Linked DNA regions of Homo sapiens: all the other regions are linked to region 1. The links are contacts of gene promoters, found by promoter capture Hi-C in human tissues and cell types (Jung and others, 2019). All regions are on one chromosome and are shown on one strand. Each heading gives the region's core, a stretch centred on a gene start or on the middle of the fragment in contact. The rest is flanking DNA. Distances are from core to core; before and after follow the strand shown. Region 1 holds the start of SLC5A1 (solute carrier family 5 member 1). Region 2 overlaps BPIFC (BPI fold containing family C). Region 3 overlaps LOC107985561 (a long non-coding RNA gene).

Region 1 (3,322 bases), core at 315-2,814:
ACAGCTTTCAGATTCACCTCTGCGTATCCTCACCACAACCATGGGGGAGTCATTAGAATAGATAAGAGTGTACCTATGTTAAAGTTGAGTAAACTGGAGGCTGAGGGAAGTTACCCAATGTTCCATGATTTGAACCATGTGAAAGCCAGTAGTGAACTTGAGTATCCTGGCTCCTAGTTGGTCAGTTTCCACTATGTCTGGGAAGCTGAGAGTATTGAGGAAAAGTCAGCCATACTGACCCCATGTGACACTTGGGAGGCATTCTGCCACATCTAGTTTCTACAATTCCTTTGGAAAAAAAAAAAAAAACACTTCCTTTTGTCCCTGAAAAAGCTCTGTGTCCACAGAAGTGTTCATGCCTACCTTCCTCTCCTCTAAGTCAAAAGAGTTCAACACAATCACCAGCTGCTACAGCAGCCTCCCTGGGCTTATCACCTCCACCTCCATAACAATCACGAGAATGGCTGGAACATCTGCAAACATTTTATATATTTTTTGTAATTTTTTTTATTTTTGTAGAGACAGAGTCTCACTATGTTGCCCAGGCTGATCTCGAACTCCTGGACTCAAGCAATCCTCCCACCTTGGCCTCTCAAAGTGCTAGGATTACAGGAGTGAACCACCACAGTCGGTCCTGCACACTTTTAAAACATCTCCTCCTCTAGTTGTTGGGCCTGCCACAGTCTGTCATAAGTGAAATGCCCATGTTCCAGGTGGCTGAGAACAAGTTTCTCTGGTTTGCTGTGTCCCCAGAGTCCCAAAAGGAGACACACACATTTCCCTCTCCCCAGTGCCAGGTCACCCCCAGGTCTTCCTCCTCCTCCTTTTCCACCCATCTTTCTCATCTCTAACTTGATCCAGCCCCTGGGATCCTCATGCACAAGGCCTCTGGGTTAGCCTCTCCCAGGAGTGGGGCATGGGTCAGCATCCCTCTGTCTGCCACCTCAGCATCCCCATCTCTGGGGCTGGCAGAGGCTGTGGCTTTCCCACTCCACACCATTTCTTTCCCATCTGAAACTGGATGACTAAAAGGTAGGACAGTAGTCACCTGCTAGAGGCTCATCTCCCAAGCCCCAGAGCCCTCCCTGTAGCTCTAAGCAGCCGCTTTCCTGCCCCTTACACTTTCCAGCGGTCTCTTCAAACCCCCACCTTCCTTCTCTGCTCACAGGCTCAGGTATCCTCCTTGGTCCTTCCTGGCAGGCTGCCCTGGGCACCCTTCTCACTTCTGCTCATCCTTGCTTGCCCTCCTCCCTTCATGCTGTGCCTCTGAGTGCTTCTAAAGTGCTTCCAAGTCATTTCCTCTCCCCTCCACCGACACTTAAGCCTACTGCCCCTTGCAGCTCAGCGAGGCCATTGCTCCTCCTCTGTGCGCACCCTCCCCACCCGCATCCCAGAACCCGCTGCATACCCACAGTCCGACGGCCATCACTACCACGAAGTAGATAACGATGATGGAGATATCGGCTGCATTGCGAATGAGCTCGTGGGTCTCAACAGGCCGGGTGACCGCGGTGGTCTTGGGGCTCCAGGTGCTACTGTCCATGGTGGCAGCGTTGCGTCCTTCCCTCTCGCCAGGGCCGCTAGCTCCTTATACGGCCTCCTGGTTAATGATCAGCACCAGGGGAGGGGACCTGGGACTTTGAGGGAGCAGGGCAGTAGCGCGGGGCCCCTGCGATGCCTTGCGGCTGCACCGTCAGGAAGCAGCTCCGGGCGTGGAGCCCAGGAAGGAGCACCCGGCTGAGCTGTTGGCTGGGGCGGCGGCCCGGCAGGTAAGAGCTGTCCTGCGAATGGGGAGGGGCCAGCCAGGGGGTGGTGCCCGCCTGGCACAAAGGCCCACTGTACTCCCACAGCAGGCACCAGCAGCGCCACCACACCTGCCCTTGCCAGAGCTGGAGTGGCTCCATTGAGGGAACAGGCCACCTGGGGCTAGGAGCCTAGAGGCTTCAGATCACCTGCCACCCATCCTTGGACTAGTCCCATGCCTTCTAAGGACTTGGCTTGTCCGCTTGTAAAATGGGTGCAGCACTCTTCTGAAGAATCAGTCAAGTCTTGTTCTCCCTGGAGAACATTCTTGAGAGGACAGAGAGTTGCTGGGTGTCACTGGAAAAAAACCAGCACAATCCTAATCTCTTGGCCACAAGGACAGCCACCCACCCACCCACATTCCTGACTCCCCCTCCACAGCCTGCAGCCCCCAGGTCCACTGTTACCCCCACTGTAAAGAGGAAGAAACTGAGACTGGGGGAAGGGATCTCACCGGGAGCTATTTCCTTGCCCTGTCCCTCTCCCAGTATTGATGCAGGGCCCTCCAGAGGCAGCAGAAGGGAAGATACTAGAGAACCCTTTCCAAGGAGTTCATCAAACCCTGACCTTCCTGGGGACTCAGCTCACCCATCTGGAAACACATGTCTAAACAGCAAGCCAGGGCTCAGAACAGAGATGACCAAGAGAGGAGGCATGACTTGCCCAAGGTCATACAGGAAACCAGCAGCAGAGCTGGCCCTGCAGCCCATGCCAGGGTTCAGAGGGAGGGCTGTGGGGTATTCTCAGGGGCTGGCTCTAGAGGCCACAGAGCAGCCAAAAGTGACTGTTCCCAAAGAGGGGGGCCTTGCTCTGATGGGGAGGTGCAGGGAGGCAGAGGACCACAGAAACCCTGCCAGGACTCTGGTCTGCCTCAGGCCCTCCCTGCCCACTGCTAGACAACCACCCACTGCCTAAATGTGAGCATCCTGTTCCTTTGCACTCAATGCTTCAGAGGTCTGCCTCCCCTCCTTCCGTATCAGCAACTGTTCTTCCCACTGAAGCTGCAGACAAAGAATCATTATTTGGACAGCATCCCCACAGGTCTTCCCCATTTCCCCCACACATCCCCCAGGACTGCAAACTATATAAGGCTATGTCCTGGGGCCAGTATAATGCCTGCCCAAAGGAAGCAGGAATTCTTACGAGGAACCTGAAAGCAGGGGCTGTCTGCTGTGGATGCCTCCCAAGACTTAGAGCTCAGCTGTCAGCTGCAGCTTGGAGCAACTCGCCTTTTGCCTGTGTTCATTCATTCCTGCATTCAGCCAAGTTTTTTCACCTGAATGTATCCCAGGAAGAGTCCCTGCCCTTAGGAAGCTTCTGTTCTAGTCTGGAAGTGAACCCACCCACAGGAAAAGTCCAGCCCTGAACCCAGGTGCAGGTGCAGGCAGCCAGGCCATGCCAAGTTCCAAAAGTACAAGGCATAGAAAGTGAAGCGAGCAGGAGAGAGAACTGGAAGTACTAAAGGACTTCAAAGGAGGGACAGAGCCATTCTTTGATCTTTTAGGAGAGCCAAACATAA
Region 2 (3,322 bases), core at 611-3,110, 390 kb before region 1:
GAAATGCTACAAAAATGCCTTAAACCATTTGGAGTCTTGGGTCTTCTTTCTATGATTCCCCAGGTACTCAGCAGACACAGATTTTGAAGGTCAAGTGTTTGACACCACTACATGGCACCTCAGGAAGTGCTTTTACTCAGAGTTGTCCTTCCAGCTAAATACACCTCCTTCTTTGTCTTAGAAAAGTTCAAACAAGGGTTCTCATTGGGTTACACCCTGGGGTGAAACAGACACACCTAAATATGCTCAAGAATCCTAAGAGCTTTGAAAAATAGTCACTGGTCAAGGAGTCAGAAAGCCTTAACAGTTTTTCATCATTACTGAGTTTCTAGGATTCTTCTTCTTCTTCTTCTTCCTCTTCTTTTTCTTCTTCTTCTTATGCTTCTTCTTCTCCTTCTCCTTCTCCTTCTCCTTCTTTTCCCTCCTCCTCCTCCTCTTCCTCCTCCTCCTCTTCCTCCTCCTCCTCCTCCTCCTCCTCCTCCTCTTCCTCTTCTTTCTTCTTCTTCTTCTTCCTCTTCCTCTTCTTCTTTTGGACAAGGTCCCCCTCTGTCACCCAGGCTGGAGGCTGAAGTGCAGTGGCACAGTCACAATTCACTGCAGCTTCAACCTCCCTGGTTCAAGGGATTCACCTCACTCAGCCTCCCAAGTAGCCGGAACTACAGGTACGCGCCACCACACCTGGCTAATTTTTGTATTTTTTATAGAAACGGGGCCTGCCATGTTGCCCAGGTTGATCATGGAAAAACAGTCATTCAATCAATTCAAACTCCAGTGTTCCAGTGATTCACCCGCCTCAGCCTCCCAAAGTGTTGGGATTATAGGCGTGAGCCACCACACCTGGCCCGAGCTTCTGGAATTCTTATTCTGACTTCAGAGGGTCCATCTTCTTAGTCTTCTTAGAATTTGAGTTTTCACCTGATACACTGGTCTTTCTCTCTCTTTTCCCACAGGGTGTATTCTACCCACTGGAAAACCTCACCGACCCCCCCTTCTCACCAGTTCCTTTTGTGCTCCCAGAACGCAGCAACTCCATGCTCTACATTGGAATCGCCGAGTATTTCTTTAAATCTGCGTCCTTTGCTCATTTCACAGCTGGGGTTTTCAATGTCACTCTCTCCACCGAAGAGGTGAGGAGAGTTAACTGAGGATGTCAATGGTCACCATCATTCAGCCTTTTTATAAGTATCCTATTGTAGAACTTTTATGCCACAATTTCGATTCTGGGACCTTTTTAGGCTATCACTCCCAGCAAGACAGTGAAGGAATGAGGGAATTGTGGAGTGAACATTGTTACGGGTTGAGCATCCCTTATCCAAAATGCTTGGGACCAGAAGTGTTCTGGATTTCGGATTTTGTCAGATTTTGGGATATTTGCATTATATATACTTACCGGTTGAGCAGCCCTAATCTGAAAATCCAAAATCTAAAATGCTCCAATAAGCATTTCCGTTGTGTATCATGTCAGCATTTAATAGTTGGATTTTGGGGCACTTTGAATTTTGGATATTCAGATTAGGAATGTTCAACCTGTATTAGTTGGGGAGTTGTCAAGTTTCCAGTTCTGCTAATACCTCACCACTCACCACTGTTCTAGATTAATCTCCAATAATAGCAAGATCCCTTTCCATCATGTATTGCCTGTGACCTTAGAGGTAATTTCAATTTATATAACTTCTGTGGGCCAGAATTTCTTCATCTGGAAAAGGCAGATAATAATAGTTCCTTACTCATAGAGTTTATATGGGCATTAAAAGATTTAAATACATGTCAAGCATTCAGACCAATCCCCAACACAGAATAAGTGCGATATAACTGTTGCTTATCATCATTGTCATCATTATTCCCTGTATTATGCTGACGTAAAGTTATCCTGGTTGTAATTACAGCTGGTTTATCTACAATGATCAGTAATAATACAGATATTCATTGATCCTCTGTCATGCACCTCCCTTTTATAATGACAGCACTGTCTCTAGCCAGTCAACCAAAAACTTTTATTGAGCATCTCTTTTTGAATCTCCTCATTCTATATGTTTTAATTATATAAGTAGGTATAAAGCTTATGTTCAGAATGGTAAGTATGGCAGCAGTGGCTATCTTACGATACTGAGAATTAGACACTTCTAGCTGCAGACTTCAAAATCATTTATCTCTGAAGGTAAATTCCTTAAGCATCCAGTATCTCAGTAATCCCTAAAAGTGAGGACAGTAACACAAGGCTTATCGTTAATGACTGTAGAATATGTATACATAGATAGATTGTAATATATATAAGTGAAGAATATGTACACATAGATTGTAATATATATATAAATAAAGACTATGTACATATAGATTGTAATATATATAAATGAAGAATATGTACACATAGATGTAATATATATAAATAATATGTATACATAGATTGTAATATATATAAAGAATATGTACACATAGATTGTAATATATATAAATAAAGAATATGTACACATAGATTGTAATATATATAAATGAAGAATATGTACACAGAGTGTAATATATATATAAAGACTATGTACATATAGAGTGTAATATATAAATGAAGAATATGTACACATAGATTGTAATATATATAAATAAAGAATATGTACACATTAGATTGTAATATACATAAATAAAGAATATGTACACATAGATAGATTGTAATATATATATAAAGAATATGTACACATAGATAGGTTGTAATATATAAAAATAAAGAATATGTACATATAGATATATATATATATAACTAAAACTTTGTTGTACTACATACGTACAATTCATGTGTAAACATTCTACAGTTATTAACAATAGACTGTATTGTTCCCAGAGTTAAAAGAAATATAACATCCTGTGTGACCTTGGGCAAGTCACTTTACTTCTCTGAGCCTCGGATTCCCTATGATTGGGCTATAAAATGATAGGTCACCTTTAAACACTGAATATTTTATGGTGTAACAGCTTCACAATTCGTCAAATTATAGGGAACACTACATTTTCCCTGAAAAGACAATCCACGTAAAATCCTAACAGTGACATAATGGGCTTTATTTTCCAGATTTCCAACCATTTTGTTCAAAACTCTCAAGGCCTTGGCAACGTGCTCTCCCGGGTAAGTGCTCAGGGTTTGAGTCTTGATAGTGTATTTGGCTCCATTGCAATTACTTCTGGAAGACTTGTGGGTTCTACGTATTCCTTTTTGGATAAGTCCCTCTGTCTATTATTGGGAGTTTTTTCTCGTAATCGAATATCTACAAATATTTACTGAACAGTACAGTTTAAAGTGCAATTAACATACAAGTGAGAGTATAATTGTAAGTTC
Region 3 (3,322 bases), core at 444-2,943, 300 kb before region 1:
TTCTCATCATGCCTCCATCTGCCATCATATCTCATCTGCCATCCAGATAGGAACAAGGGAAAAGGACTAAGGAGGAAAAAGGCAAGGAGATATGTCAGCTGATTGTCCTTTTCTGTCAGGTTAGCAGTGTCTTCCCCAAAGGCCCCATCTAGCAGATTTCTGACTATGTCTCTATGGCCAGAACACACCGTGGCACACATTCATTCTAAACTGGAAGATGGTTAGGAAAAAGGAAGGTGTGGGGGTGTGAAACCACCTGCCAAAAGTGTCACAGTTGTGACCAGTTTATTTCACAGTTTGAGATGACATGGTCATAAAGACCTTTGTCACCTTCAGAATGCAGCAAAGCATGAGAGAGTATTAGAAGGCCGCTGAGAAAGACAAACAAGTTTTAGGATTACAGAAGTATTCAACAACCAACCATGTAAGATCTGAAAGGGATGATTTTTTCAGTTCTGTGTTTGATTAAATACTCAACTGTACAGGAGCCATGGCTACATGGCAGGGATTGGGGGAAAAAAGACAAAACTTGGAAATAGCAGTTGTCAACAATGTGATCTAGCAGCCAAAAAGCTAGTTTTCTCATGCTCTGTATTAATTGAAGTGAATATTTTTTGACTCTAATTTTGAATATGCCATTTTGTTCTGATGGGTGTTTTCCTCTCCAGAATGTTAGCTGGCATGTTTGGGAATCCAGATTTGAATCAGAATTATTATAATATTGAATAACTTTTATTGGGAAAGTATTTTCCAGTGGACACTATTAAATAAGCTTAATTTTAAATTAATTTCATATGAAGTAGAAGTAAATTACTTCTAAGTATTGCTTAAATAAGCTTAATTTTTAAATTAATTTTATATGAAGTAGAAGTAAATTCTAAGTACTTCTATTTTGATTTTTAATTTATTAAGATTATTAACTTTCACAAAGAAATTTTGGGTTGTTTTTGTTTATCTTAAAGTCTGTGGATTTCAGCTCCTGCTAGTGGTTTTTTTCTCTCTATAGTTATATCTACCAGGTCTCATTCACATAGATTAGTTATTACAAATCTTGATTATTGTCAAGATTTGCTTCTTCCATCATTATTAGTTACAGATTTTATTCTGTGTGGTTTTAGGCTTCTACAATGTTACTTGGTGTTGTTTCTACCAGGTCTAATTTTTCCTGGGTCAAATTTTTTTGTGTTCTTTGAAATCAAAAGGAAGAGGTTCTCAAGTCAGTTCTTACATCTAAAGCAAACTTCATGTTTTAGTTATAATGTGTAGCATTAGCCATTTGTGTAGCATTAGCCATTTTCAGTTTTATTTTATGCTAATTCCTGCTACCATTTATTTAGCACATAGGGTTTGAGTTTGTATCATATACCAGGGACTGTACTAGCCACTGGTGATACATTGGTGAACAGAGCTTACGGTCTGCCTGGGGAGACAAAGAAAATAAAATGCTTTTGTAATAACAATAAAATTTCAAGTAGTGTTAAATGTCGGGGAGAAAATGAAGCGATCCAGGGAGATCTCTCTAACGAGAGGCAATTTAAGCAGAGACCTGAATATGCTCTTTACTCACATAGTTTCATGGTTCACTCAGGTGGAGGGAGTGAAATGTAAAAAGGGCATGAGTTGAAAACACGCTGGGTGTATTTGGAGAACAGCAAGAAAGGCAGCGTTAGGCAGAGTGCATTAGCAGAAGAAGTGTAGGAAATGAAGAGGTTGGCAGGGGCAGAACATAAGGGGCCATTTAGGCCACGGATAGGACTTCAGAATTACTCAGTTGTGGCAAGAAGCATTTGGTAGGTTTTGAAGGATGCTCTCCGGCGTCACGTCCGTGAGCCTTCCCCGCTGTTCACGGCTCTGTTGAAGACAGTGCTCTGCTGTCCCAGGATTCACGGTCCACTGGACTAAGCACTGGTCAGCCAGGGGAGGAGGAGCCAACACAAAGAGTTTCAGTGGATGAGTAGCTAGGAGTTCACCAAAGTGGGGAAAGGTCATCCCGGCAGAGAGGGCAGCATAGGCAGAGCCTCGGAGGAGGGAGGGGCTGAGGGGAACTGGGGAGCCCTGGGTCCTCTGCCCCACAGGCTCCTGGCCCCTCACGGCCGCCCTTCTTGCTCCTCTTTGCGGCTCCATCCTCATCTCCCTGATCTTAGAGACCAGGGCTCTTCCCTTTAACTTCTCTCTCATCTCCACCCACTCCCTGGGGACCCCCACCCAGACCCACAGCTCCAATCCTGTCCACCTCCCAGTCTTTCTCCCCTGGTCTCTCTCCCTTGAATCCAGACTAGCTGTTCATTGCAGAGCCTGAGTCCTCAAGAGCAGCTCTTGGATACCCCATAGACGTGGGAGACTGGCACATCCACGTCCCCGCTGCCTCCTACCATCTCATTGGCTCCTCTCTTTCTTTCCTGTTTCACGTGTTCCATCAGCAATACCTTGAAAATGAAGCCAGAATCCATCCGCACCCACCCCTCCACTGAGACCAGCCCTCCTTGTCCGTCGTCTTTGGCCAGGATGGAGGCAGCCGCCTCCGCATGTCTCCCTGATGCCAGCCTGTGTCCCCGACAGTGGCAGGGCGATCTTTTAAAAACATTAAGTCAAGACGTGCCGATGGTCTCCTTTGCACTTAGGAATCAAAATGCTTTCCTTGGCCAACAACATGATCTGACCCCACCCCACCCCACTGTCCCTCTGTCCTCATCTCCCGACACTGGCACTTGGCTGCAGCCGCACCAGCCCCGCTGCTGTTCCTCCAACCAGACCTCTCCCCTCCGGGATACCAGCAGGGCTCATGCCTCCCTTCCACAGCCCCTGCTCAGGGTCACCCGATCAAAGGGGCCTTCTCTGACCAAGGTTTACAAAATAGAAGCAGCCACCTACTCCCGTCACTCTCCCTTTGTCCTCCTTCAGCTGCCTTGTCACGTGCGTCGCCGCCTGACATAACGTTTGCTTTGTGGCTTTGTGCCTGTCTCCTCTGCTGGATGGAAACCCCAAGAGAGTTGGGATTGGTGTTTCTTGTGCTCAGCTGTGACCCCAGCATATAGAACAGTGCCTGACACATAGTAGGTGCTCAGTACATCCATGTTGCATGAATGAATCTTCCTGCCCAGTGCCTTGTGCACAGAAGGCACCTAGACAGTGTCCGATCAATGAACTGCATTAGTACCGTTAGTAACAGTAGCTCCCATTTGTTGAGGGCTCACTGAGCTAAGCAGCTGTAACAAATTGTGCCATTTAGCCTCCCCAGCTGCACTGCAGCTTGGCCATCCCGAGCCTCATTTTATGAAGGAGACACCGAGGAGGCTCGGAGAGAGATTCCTGGGAAACGCAC

The links. The method cuts DNA at HindIII sites, captures the fragments that hold promoters and counts their contacts. A contact is called where the count stands out against the background at its distance.
Region 2: a fragment that was not itself captured here is called in contact with the fragment with the promoter of SLC5A1 in region 1 in 2 of the 25 tissues and cell types used here (dorsolateral prefrontal cortex and neural progenitor cells).
Region 3: a contact is called between a fragment that was not itself captured here and the fragment with the promoter of SLC5A1 in region 1, in 5 of the 25 tissues and cell types used here (H1 embryonic stem cells, IMR-90 fibroblasts, heart right ventricle and 2 more).

What each region holds. Positions count from the first base shown.
Region 1 is chr22:32,041,503-32,044,824 of GRCh38, reverse strand. SLC5A1 (solute carrier family 5 member 1) reads right to left here and starts at 1,564. Exons shown (of 15, transcript NM_000343.4): 1 at 1,409-1,564. The coding sequence starts at 1,543. The HindIII fragment of the contact is 11,764 bases long and covers 1-3,322 here.
Region 2 is chr22:32,433,509-32,436,830 of GRCh38, reverse strand. It overlaps BPIFC (BPI fold containing family C), which reads left to right. Exons shown (of 17, transcript NM_174932.3): 10 at 951-1,127; 11 at 3,059-3,112. Among named protein-coding and RNA genes, the nearest start is that of RTCB, 23 kb to the right of the region's middle. The HindIII fragment of the contact is 8,775 bases long and covers 1-3,322 here.
Region 3 is chr22:32,340,114-32,343,435 of GRCh38, reverse strand. LOC107985561 (a long non-coding RNA gene) reads left to right here. Exons shown (of 2, transcript XR_001755500.2): 1 at 1-424. It also overlaps a transcript of SLC5A4 not described here. Among named protein-coding and RNA genes, the nearest start is that of RFPL3, 16 kb to the left of the region's middle. The HindIII fragment of the contact is 3,874 bases long and covers 1-3,322 here.